2 separate regions of the Homo sapiens genome follow, and region 1 is linked to region 2. The links are contacts of gene promoters, found by promoter capture Hi-C in human tissues and cell types (Jung and others, 2019). All regions are on one chromosome and are shown on one strand. Each heading gives the region's core, a stretch centred on a gene start or on the middle of the fragment in contact. The rest is flanking DNA. Distances are from core to core; before and after follow the strand shown.

Region 1 (6,057 bases), core at 3,437-5,936, 780 kb before region 2:
CATAGCCCTGCAAATAGTTCCCCATTTCAACCAGAGCAAATGCCATTGTCCTTACTATGGCTTCACAGCCCCTTGCAATCCGTCTCCAGTCCCACACCCTCCCGGTACCTGCACGCCTCCTGGAAAGGAACACTCCCACCTCAAGGCCTTTGCTGTGCTCTTGCCCCTCTGCCTTGCAAACTCTTCCCCAAGTCCTACTTGGCTCACTCACCACCTTCAAGCCTCTGCTTAAACCTCAACTCCTCAACGAGGCTGACCCTGACTGTCCTGTTTCATCCTGTAATCTAGCCTCTCCCCACCTACTGCAGGCCCCGTCAGCACTCTGGATCCTGCTCAGCCGGCTCTACTATTTTTTTCCACAGCATGTTCAACTTTGTAACAGATCCTATAATTTACTTATTTTTTTTCCCCCTCTTCTGTCCCTCCTTCATTCTCATCAACCGTTGGACAGAAAGAAAGCTTTCTGGCGACTCTGTCTCTGTTGATGATACAAGCTAGGTACCTGGTTAACTGAATGAATCAATTGTTTCTGAGAACTGGTGCTTCCCTCCCTCTTTTGCAGATCTCTGAATAATATTTTCTTTATTGGAGACTGTCTAGTTTCATCCTGCCTGATGCCACAGGAGGCCTAGCATTAGAGGTATCATTTACCATACCTAGTGACTACGTGAAAATAATCTTGTTTTTCTATGGATAACTATTTTTCCCTGTCCCCAAAGATAGTTAAGTCTTTATTTTTCAAACAAACAGACAGCAGCAGCAAAAAGATCAATTAAAATAACTGAATGTGATTTTTTCATGGGTTATAATCTTCTCCTCAGGATATCTGCCTCCCAATATTTTATTTTGGGTTATAATAAAATTAGTTTTTATTTTCTGAGCCCAGACTAATGGCAAGAGAGGTAGTCCCAAAGCAATTCCAAACATTCAAAACATGTCATAGATTGTAACCTCTAATGTTAACCAAGCACATCTATTATGTTCACTGCTGTTCCCCTAGTGCCATCTTAAGTGCCTGCACGTGGAAGGTACGTAAGAAATATCCACTGGATAGTGAATGTACCAATCTTTAGTGATCTGCAATGAATGTTGTGCTGTACTATTAATTCTATTGTATTAGAATAAATGGTTCCCAATAATTTTAGTATTGTTGCCCAAAGACAACTCCAATTACAACTTGTTAAATTTTTAAAAAGATGGTAGGTATTTTAACTTTATACAATTATGTACTATTTGAATTCTTTTGTAATGGGCATGTATTAGTTTGGTAATTAAAAAAATAATTTTTTTTTTTTTTTTTGAGACCGAATCTCGCTCTGTTGCTGGAGTGCAGTGGCACGATCTCGGCTCACTGTAACCTCTTCCTCCTGAGTTCAAGCGATTCTCCTGCCTCAGCCTCCCAAGTAGCTGGGATTACAGGCATGTGCTACCACACCCAGCTAATTTTTGTATTTTTAGTAGAGACGGGGTTTCACCATGTTGGCCAGGCTGGTCTTGAATTCCTGACCTCAAGTGGTCTGCCCGCCTTGGCCTCTCAAAGCGCTGGGATTACAGCTGTGAGCTATCATACCTGGCCAAAAAAATAATTTAATGAGAAAGATCACACAGGTATTTGATTTTTTTTTTTTTTTGAGATAGAGTCTTGCTTTGTCACCCAGGCTGGAGTACAGTGGCATGATCTTGACTCACTGCAACCTCCATCTCCTGGGTTCAAGCAATTCTCTTGCCTCAGCCTCCCAAGTAGCTGGAATTACAGGCGTGTGCCACCACGCCCAGCTAATTTTTGTATTTTTAGTAGAGACGGGGTTTCACCATGTTGGCCAGGCTGGTCTCAAACTCCTGACCTCAGATGATCTGTCTGCCTCGGCCTCCCAAAGCACTGGGATTATAGGCCTGAGCCATTGTGCCTGGCCTGATCTTTTTTTTTTTTTCAGAGATGCACACAGTTCTAAGCACCTACTCCCTAGACATACACACACATACAAACACATGGTGTTAAGAACCTGTGTGATTTACGTATTATCCTTAAAGGCAAACTACAGCTTATCTAGACCAAATTAATATGTCAAAAAGGGTACAAAATAAAAATGCCAGAAGACAGTAGGAAGAAATGTCAACAAAAATGCCACCAGAAGAGAAAGAAGGCTCCCACATACCAGTTAAGCAGCAGATCAGGTGTCGGTCAGGGACTCTGTTCATCTGATAACAAGAGCCCACTGCCCTGGCAACCTTGGTGTTTCTGAGGCTTTCTTCCTCAGTACTTGGACCAGTTTTTCTCTGCATTGTTTTTTTTTTTTTTTTCTCGAGATGGAGTCTCACTCTGTTGCCAGGCTGGAGTGCAGTGGCGCGATCTCGGCTCACTGCAACCTCCGCCTCCCAGATTCAAGCAATTCTCCTGCCTTAGCCTCCCGAGTAGCTGGGACTACAGGCGTGCACCACCATGCCCAGCTAATTTTTGTATTTTTAGTAGAGACAGAGTTTCACCAAGTTGGCCAGGATGGTCTTGATTTCTTGACCTCGTGATCTGCCTGCCTCGGCCTCCCAAAGTGCTGGGATTACAAGCGTGAGCCACTGCGCCTGGCCTCTTGGCATCCTTTTTAGAGTGCTCTTAGATTAACAAATGATTAAACACCTCTCTACAGCTCAGTATCTATTCAACATTAGTCATGTTGTAGACATAATTAAAATATATCTTCCAACAAGCATGAATTTCCTTTTTTTTTTTGGTCTCTCCATTATGGGTATTTTGAAAGAAGACTTTCTCCTGCCAACTGTACCTTTTGAACTACCTGGGCTCTATTATAAGAACAAAACTACAAGGATAGAAAGGCTAATTTTTTTCCTTTTCTGATCTACTGAAAAAAAGTCTCTCATAGGTCCCTCTTTGTGTTTGTCATCACCTGTAGAGTCCAAGAAATCGGAGCGTCTGCATGAGTTCAGCGTAAGTGTGGTGATTTGGATACCAATCATAAGTCTCCTTCTTCTTGGCCAAGGGCAGTTCACTAAACAGTTTCACCACTTTCATAGACTTGGAATTAGTAGGCCTGGTGACTTCACCAAATAGCCGGGCACTGAGACGAGACATGCGGAAGGCATATTCTGAAAGGGAGGACATTTCTTGAGTGGCAAGGAGTTAGAGTTCCTATTGAAAATGAGAAGAAAGTTAAACAGGTTAGGGTAAGAAATTCCAAGATTAGCTAATGAATAAGTTAGAAAATGCAAACACAGCAAGCCACTCATGGATCAGTGCAGTGTTGGCAGGATATGCCTTGGAGTGGAGAAGTATCCACAGTCCAAATGGCTATTTCCTTTCCATGCTTTACAGCTGCGATTTTTGCACTTCGTGTTTACATGCTATTACTTCCTTGCTGTATTGCCTCCTTTGCAACCAACTATTTTGTGATTCACCAGGTTATTTACTGACAGTCAGTTTACCTATTTGTAGGCTGGGGATGAAGAAGACAGGGAAACAAGTTATCCTAATCCAGCATCATTATACCTTCAGAAAACACCCACCTAAGCAATCTGCAGCATTAATATGCTGACTGCTTGCCATCAAAAGGTGTAATCATGGCAGAGACATAATTATGTTGTCTTTACTATCAGTCCTTTGAACACTGTTCTCCTCAAGGGCTCCAGAAGGCTCTGAGAGCTGCTAATGAGTTATGAGGTCATTTGGCTTCTAGGTTACTGAACTGAATTTTGCCTAGAGACTGAGAGCCATTTGGGAAAAACAGACAGTAGCCCTATAAAAATAAATCCAATAGCTCAAAAGATCCATTTTCTTACTAAATAGAAGGCACGTATGAATTGTAAGGTTACTTGCTGTATCCTCCATCTTATATATTCTGCTTTAATGCAAACTACCTAAGTTCTTATCAGCTGGAAACAGTAGCTTTTTCTTCAGAGACATACAACACTGAAATGGGTATAAGAATGATATCCGTGATATGCACGAATTACAGCTAACAGACATAAAAAACTATACAGGGGATACATAAAAATCAAGAAAGCTGCTGGTGGAATAACTATCTCAACTCAGTTTAGACCAGACGTAGGGGTTATTGTTGGCAGAATATGCCAATTTATGAGAAATTTTAGTAGTGAGATGAGAATCTTTGCTGACTCAGAGACTATCCTGGGAAACAGTTCAGCTGAGATGAAAAGGTGCTGATATTCAAGCAGGAAAAAGGCATAAACTTTGAAAAACCAATGGGAGAAATGTACCAAAAACCCTCCTACATAAAAATGGTGCCAAGTGAATTTCAAAATAGTTCTTGTAAGAAAACAAACCGTGTTTAAATTAAGGAAGTTTTAATGCCTGTTTCAAGATCCATTAACAGAGGAGGCTGGGCATGGTAGCTCATGCCTATAATCCCAGTACTTTGAGAGGCTGAGGTGGGAGGATCGCTTGAGGTCAGGACTTCAAGACCAGCCCAGGCAACATGGAGAAATCTTGTTTTTACAGAAAAAAAAACAAAAAACAAAAGAAAATAAGAAAATTAGTCTGCTATGGTAGTGCACACCTGTAGTTCCAGCTACTCGTGGAGGCTGAGGAGGGGGACATCACTTGAGCACAGGAGTTTGAGGTTACACTAAGTTATGACTGCACTACTGTACTCTATAGCCTGAGTGACAGAGCAAGATTGTGTGTCAAAAAAAAAAAAAAAAAAAAAGCAGAGGCTGATCTCAAACCACTGTCAACCTCAAAACCATTCAGAACACCAACCAAGCAATTTTGGGTCAATAGTGCCACCTGAAGGCTGGCAACGGTAGAACTGTCAGATCCAACGTCCACCCCTCCCTCCCCACCATCTGCAGATCACCTACAAGCCTGTTCTTCCTTTTCCATTCAGCATTCTCAGTTTCCTGATTCACTTCTTTGCCAACTCTGGTTGGGGGTGGGGTTGTTAGGACTAGGGTTATAGTCTCAAGGTGAAAAAAATTCATTTAGCAGTTTAATGTATAAACAAATCAGTGCCATAAACCTCTAAAAAGCCTTGCAAATGTCCAGAGTCACCTAGTTTCTTTGCATGCTTTTTCTCTTCCTTTGCCCTTTAAAGTTACCTTTTTCCAAACATTAGATTAAAAAACAATAGTTGCTTCATCAACTTTGCTTTGTTTGCTTAATTACCATTGTGGCATCAGAATATATTTCTGCTGTAATTGCACAGTATTTCCACAGTTAGTTATCTGTAAGCTGGTATGGGAACTATCAGTTTGTTACAGTGTTTTCAGGAAAATCTGTTCTGAATTCCAAGTCCCTTTATTTGTCAATGAAGAGGCAACAGGGATTCCTGAGGCCTAGGTTTGACTACTGGCTCTGTCACTTAATCCTTGGGTTATTGTGAACAGTTACTCATCTTCTCTGAGTCTCCTTTTCTGAAAACAAAGCTTGCATGACTAGTGCGAAAATGAGTAACAGTGGCACTGAGTAGTAAATGGTAACTTACAAAAAAGAACGAGCCCAGATCTGTAAGTTTGGTTTTCATATATTCTACATAGACACATTTGTTTATTCCTTGTTCTTAATCATGTTTAAGAAAAAAAAAAAAAGAGAGAGAGACAGACAGATAGATACTCCATATAGTAAAAACTTTGTGCCTCCCTGGAATGATGACCTCATTTACAAAGACTGACAGCCAGAGAAACATAGGGAGAGGACCAGCACCTTGATAACTTGACAAGATAGCCAGGAGGAGGAAGGGACTCAGTAGGACAGTAGTCACTGAAGCCATCACAGGATGCTGCTGTTATGTCCATGCCCATTTTGGAATGTGGCAAATTACTGGGATACATAACTTGTAAGTAAAAAGGTCACACTAGAATAGGCTGGAACATGGTTATATCATAAAATCCAAGTCCTAAAGTTTTATGACAGAGAAAGGGAATAAGCCTTTTCAAACCTGAATCCCTTACTAGAAACAAAGGCCCACTTGCTAAACAGGAGGAAACTGAAAGTGGTTTTAACAATTACCAATGACACTGCTTTGTTGTTTCCTTCCACAGTGCACAGACACATGTCTCTCACGAAGAATAACACGGGAGCTTTTCTTA
Region 2 (5,471 bases), core at 204-2,703:
GAAACAAAATGAAAGGGTAACATGAAAAACAGGCTAGAAACTGGAGCTTATTGCTCTCTAAGCAATGCAAATCACATCATTTTAATAAACTACAGAAGTCAAAACCGAGTTTTCATATTTTGCATGGGAAGTATCACATTTTTAAAAATTACTGCAGATAATCAAGTTTTCTTTGCCAATATGCTATGTTTTTGATAAAAGGAAGTAGAAAATAGCTATAGTTTGAAAATAATATATTTTAAAAAGAGGTGAGCCTGTATATTTTTTAGGCAAGCACTTTTCTTAGGGGAATTAGCTAAATTATTATCTCAATTTTCTATGTAGTTTAGCCTCTCAACACCGGTAGTAAAGTAGTCAAAAACCTACCTTTATATTTCTGGATACTTTGGTTTTTTTGATGCCAGACTAGCTTTCTGGAAACGTGTCAGTTGGCTACCAGGATCGGTGGCAAATTCCACTGCCAGGCTAGATTGGGGCAGGTGGGGAGAGAGAGGCACTATGTCTCTATCAGAAAGTCACTGAAGAAACACTGTTTTTGGACGAGTTCAAGCCTCATCTAGATTTTTAGTCCAGTAGAAGATCGCGACCACCTCTGCCCCTCCATAGCCTACAGCCAGAGTTTTAGAGTACCAGGCCTTGCAGCTTGGTGGAGATGATGTACAATGGATGCTACCTGGAGGCAGGGACTGTGTATTATAATGGCGCCGTCCCCTGTGCCTAGTACACCGTAGTTTGACACAAAATAAGCACTTTGTAAATTTAGTCCGAAGGAATGGAAATCTCATCCTACAATCCATTCAGTTATTAATAGAGCAACTGAGGCCCAGAGACGGGCAGTGGCCTGCCTGCCTACAGCTTCGTAGAGAGTTCTCAGCATGCTTACTTTTTTTTTTTGAGATGGAGTCTTGCTCTGTCGCCCAGGCTGGAGTGCAGTGGCGCGATCTTGGCCCACTGCAGCTTCCATCTCCTGGGTTCAAGTGGTTCTCCTGCCTCAGCCTCCCGAGTAGCTGGGACTACAGGCAGCCACCACCACGCCCAGATAATTTTTGTATTTTTAGTAGAGATGGGGCTTCACCATGTTGGCCAGGGTGGTCTCGAACTCCTGGCTTCAGGTGATCCACCCGCCTTGGCCTCTCAAAGTGTTGGGATTACAGGTGTGAGCCACCATGCCTGGCCCAGTGTTCTTTTCATGAAAATAAAATTTCTTTTTTTATATAGCATATGAGCTCATAACTGGCACTGTATAGCACCTGAGCATGTTTTGATTTGGTCTTTCTTGTTGAGGGGCCTTGTTACGTTATACCCTGGTGTCTAGACTTTGGCCCAAAACCTTTGAGATGGAGAGCCGGTGTCTGTGGTACTGTTTGCAATCTCTGGTTCTACACTCAGGGTTCATTCATGTAGATGCAAATACAGATGGTATCATAACTTCCAACCTCTCTGTTCCTCATCACAGCTGTTCAGTCTCGCTTGAAGACAGATTACGGAAGGACGAGGCCAAATCCAGATTTTGTGGTGTGAAAATTTACCCTGGTGTGTTATCACTACCAGGGGATCTGACCTCAGCCAGGAGCAGTGAGAGCCTCCTCTCCCCAGCCATGCTGAGCGCTGGCCTAGGACTGCTGATGCTGGTGGCAGTGGTTGAATTTCTCATCGGTTTAATTGGAAATGGAAGCCTGGTGGTCTGGAGTTTTAGAGAATGGATCAGAAAATTCAACTGGTCCTCATATAACCTCATTATCCTGGGCCTGGCTGGCTGCCGATTTCTCCTGCAGTGGCTGATCATTTTGGACTTAAGCTTGTTTCCACTTTTCCAGAGCAGCCGTTGGCTTCGCTATCTTAGTATCTTCTGGGTCCTGGTAAGCCAGGCCAGCTTATGGTTTGCCACCTTCCTCAGTGTCTTCTATTGCAAGAAGATCACGACCTTCGATCGCCCGGCCTACTTGTGGCTGAAGCAGAGGGCCTATAACCTGAGTCTCTGGTGCCTTCTGGGCTACTTTATAATCAATTTGTTACTTACAGTCCAAATTGGCTTAACATTCTATCATCCTCCCCAAGGAAACAGCAGCATTCGGTATCCCTTTGAAAGCTGGCAGTACCTGTATGCATTTCAGCTCAATTCAGGAAGTTATTTGCCTTTAGTGGTGTTTCTTGTTTCCTCTGGGATGCTGATTGTCTCTTTGTATACACACCACAAGAAGATGAAGGTCCATTCAGCTGGTAGGAGGGATGTCCGGGCCAAGGCTCACATCACTGCGCTGAAGTCCTTGGGCTGCTTCCTCTTACTTCACCTGGTTTATATCATGGCCAGCCCCTTCTCCATCACCTCCAAGACTTATCCTCCTGATCTCACCAGTGTCTTCATCTGGGAGACACTCATGGCAGCCTATCCTTCTCTTCATTCTCTCATATTGATCATGGGGATTCCTAGGGTGAAGCAGACTTGTCAGAAGATCCTGTGGAAGACAGTGTGTGCTCGGAGATGCTGGGGCCCATGATCTGGGAAGAAAAGTGTGGTCAGGACACTCTTGGGACGCTCTTTTGATAGCTCTCTATAAGGGAGCTGCTTTCCATGTCTTTTAAGATTTTCCTTCTTTTACACCAATGTAATGAATGAGCAACAGAAAATACGGATCAAAACCCAATACTATGTCTCTTTTGGCAATGCAAAGTATATTTTTTTAATGTACCACAGAAATCAAGGCTAGGGCTTCATGTTTGGTAAAAGAGGTATTATATTCTCTCTACATATAGCAAATAATTCATATATAAATCGTGTTTTTCCTATTATAAAAAGCAGAGATTAGGAACAATTCTGTCTACATATAGCAAAAATTCATATATAAATTGTGTTTTTCCTAGTATAGAAAACAGAGATTAGGAACAATTATAGTGATCATTAATTTTTATGAAATTTTACCTATACATTAATGTTAGTCATTTTAGATATGCTTTTTAAAAAGTATCAAATAATTTCCCCATTTCTCTGCTGTAATGTATCTAATTATCTAACTGAAAAACAAAACAAAACATCTTTATATTTCTGGAAGTTTCTTTGAGCCCTAGCCTTGGCTTTCAGAATAAAAATCAGGCTCACGCCTGTAATCCCAGCGCTTTGGGAGGCTGAGGCGGGCGGATCACGAGGTCAAGAGATCAAGACCAAATTAGCCGGGCGCGGTGGCGGGCGCCTGTAGTCCCAGCTACTCGGGAGGCTGAGGCAGGAGAATGGCGTGAACCCGGGAAGCGGAGCTTGCAGTGAGCCGAGATTGCGCCACTGCAGTCCGCAGTCCGGCCTGGGCGACAGAGCGGGACTCCGTCTCAAAAAAAAAAAAAAAAAGAGATCAAGACCATCCTGGCTAACATGATTAAACCCCATCTCTACTAAAAATACAAAAAATTAGCCTGGTGTGTTGGCGGGCACCTGTAGTCCCAGCTACTCGGGAGGCTGAGGCGGGAGAATGGCATGAACCCAGGAGGTGGAGATGGCAGTGAGCCGAGACCATGCCACTGCACTCCAGCCTGGGCAACAGAGCGAGATGCCGTCTCAAAAAAAAAAAAAAAAGCAGAATAAAAGTCAGTTGGATGCCATGATCTGTATTAAGCTCCAAGGCCCAGGAACTGAAGTGGGGCAATATGAGAATGAGGGGCACTTGATTCTGCTTAAAAAAAATAGACTGCCTTTGAAGAGGTCACGCTGTCTGCTCTTCAGTCATTTAGCCATTTTGCCTGTCTACTGTGGCCTCACCACAGCCTACAGTCAGAGTTCTAGTGTGCCAGGTCTTTGAGTTGGAGGGAGATCATTTAGAATGCCAGATCCATGGCAGTAGGAACTGTGTCTGTTTTTATTTTCTCCCACGTCTCTGTGACTAGAACACTGCCTATTGCATAATAAACGCTTAATAAATATTTTGTAAATGACTGAATAGCTGTGCTAACTGGTTTTACAATGCCTCCTTTGTATTGTAGGTAGAGAAACTGATGCCCAGAGAGGGGCAGTGGCCTGCCCTGGGTTTCATAGAGAGCCTGTGGCAGTGCTGGGACTAGAGCTGTTTCTTGACTCCTGGTGCAGGGCTCTTTCCTTTACAACATGCTACTTTCCTAATGTCCTTCCCTCCTTGGAACCCCATGCCTCTTTCTACAGACCCTTCTACACAACTTATTCTCTTCCTTCTTTCTAGCCTTCTTTGTTTCAGTTCCAGGGGGATCTGAAATCCAAAGGACAACACTTGGCATTCTTAAATATTTTTTTTTCACTTCCTATGGATCACACTAATCTACTTTCATTAATCTATTCTCTCAAACATATCTTTTTCTTACCTGAATCTGAGAATTGAGGTACATGCTAGGCACATGTGGATATTAGTCATCACACAGGGGGAGATTGGTTCCACTGTCACTGTGAGTTGTGTGAGGTCAAGTACCATATTTTATGTCCTGGGAAGGATCATATTCATTCTTTTTAAATAGAAAGGTGCTTCTGCTTGGTTATATTTTTGTTAGTAGGATGAATTTTCATTATACCATTTCTATTTTTTTTACAGATGTCCTTTGTGACCAATTGTTGTAATAGTGACAATAGTATTTAACATTTGTATTGGGCTTTACATTTTACCAGACAATCTCATATATAGTCCATTATCTCATTTGATTTTAATAGCAACTCTATGCAGTAACCAATTTTATCCCCAATTCACAGGTGACAAAACTCAGGCTGGAGTGATGGTTTGCCCAGGATCATGAACTTGTAAATAATGCAGATGGAGCAGACCCAAATTTTTTGACTCCGAGTCTTGTGCTCTTTCCAGTAAATCCTAAGTATCTCATTGTTCATACTTGTAAGACTTCAAACTAGGATTAGCCTGTGGAACTTCCCTCAAGTTTATGAGTATTTTTACACACATGCAATAAGCAACTAATCTTTCAAATTTGGTATTGATGGGATGCCTGGGTGCTAAGATCCAAAATCACAACAGATCAAAGTTTATGATCTGCTTTTCTTAGTGACAAGGTATGGAATCAACCTAAGTGTCCATCAACACATGAACAGATAAGGAAAATGTAGTGTATGCATGTATGTGTATCTGTTTCATTTTCTACTTTTCTGTACTGTTCAAATTGTTTTTAGCCATGCTCAAATATCACATTTGAACATTTGAACAGATAAAAAAATGTAGTATACATATGTATGTGTATATATGTATACACACACACAATGGAATATTATTCAGCTTTAAAAAAGAAGGAAATCTTGTCATTTGAAAAAATGTGGATGAACCAGGAGGACCATTATGCTAACTGAAATAAGCCACATACAGAAAGACAAATACTGTAAGATCTCACAGATGTGTGGAATTTCAAAAAGCCAAACTCACAGAAGCAGAGTAGGATGGTGGTTGCCAGGGCCTGGGACGTGGGGGAAATAGGGAGATGTTTGGTGTCTGTTAGGAAGAATGAATAAGCTCTGGAGAGCT

What was found. Contacts are between HindIII fragments. The study calls those that stand out against the background at their distance.
Region 1: a contact is called between a fragment that was not itself captured here and the fragment with the promoter of TAS2R5 in region 2, in 1 of the 25 tissues and cell types used here (mesenchymal stem cells).

The regions. Positions count from the first base shown.
Region 1 is chr7:141,007,519-141,013,575 of GRCh38, forward strand. MRPS33 (mitochondrial ribosomal protein S33) reads right to left here. Exons shown (of 3, transcript NM_053035.3): 2 at 2,901-3,142. The coding sequence starts at 3,115. Among named protein-coding and RNA genes, the nearest start is that of MRPS33, 4.4 kb to the right of the region's middle. RefSeq lists an enhancer at 5,873-5,942. The HindIII fragment of the contact is 3,521 bases long and covers 2,927-6,057 here.
Region 2 is chr7:141,788,764-141,794,234 of GRCh38, forward strand. TAS2R5 (taste 2 receptor member 5) reads left to right here and starts at 1,454. Exons shown (of 1, transcript NM_018980.3): 1 at 1,454-2,604. The coding sequence starts at 1,599. The coding sequence ends at 2,498. The HindIII fragment of the contact is 8,730 bases long and covers 1-5,471 here.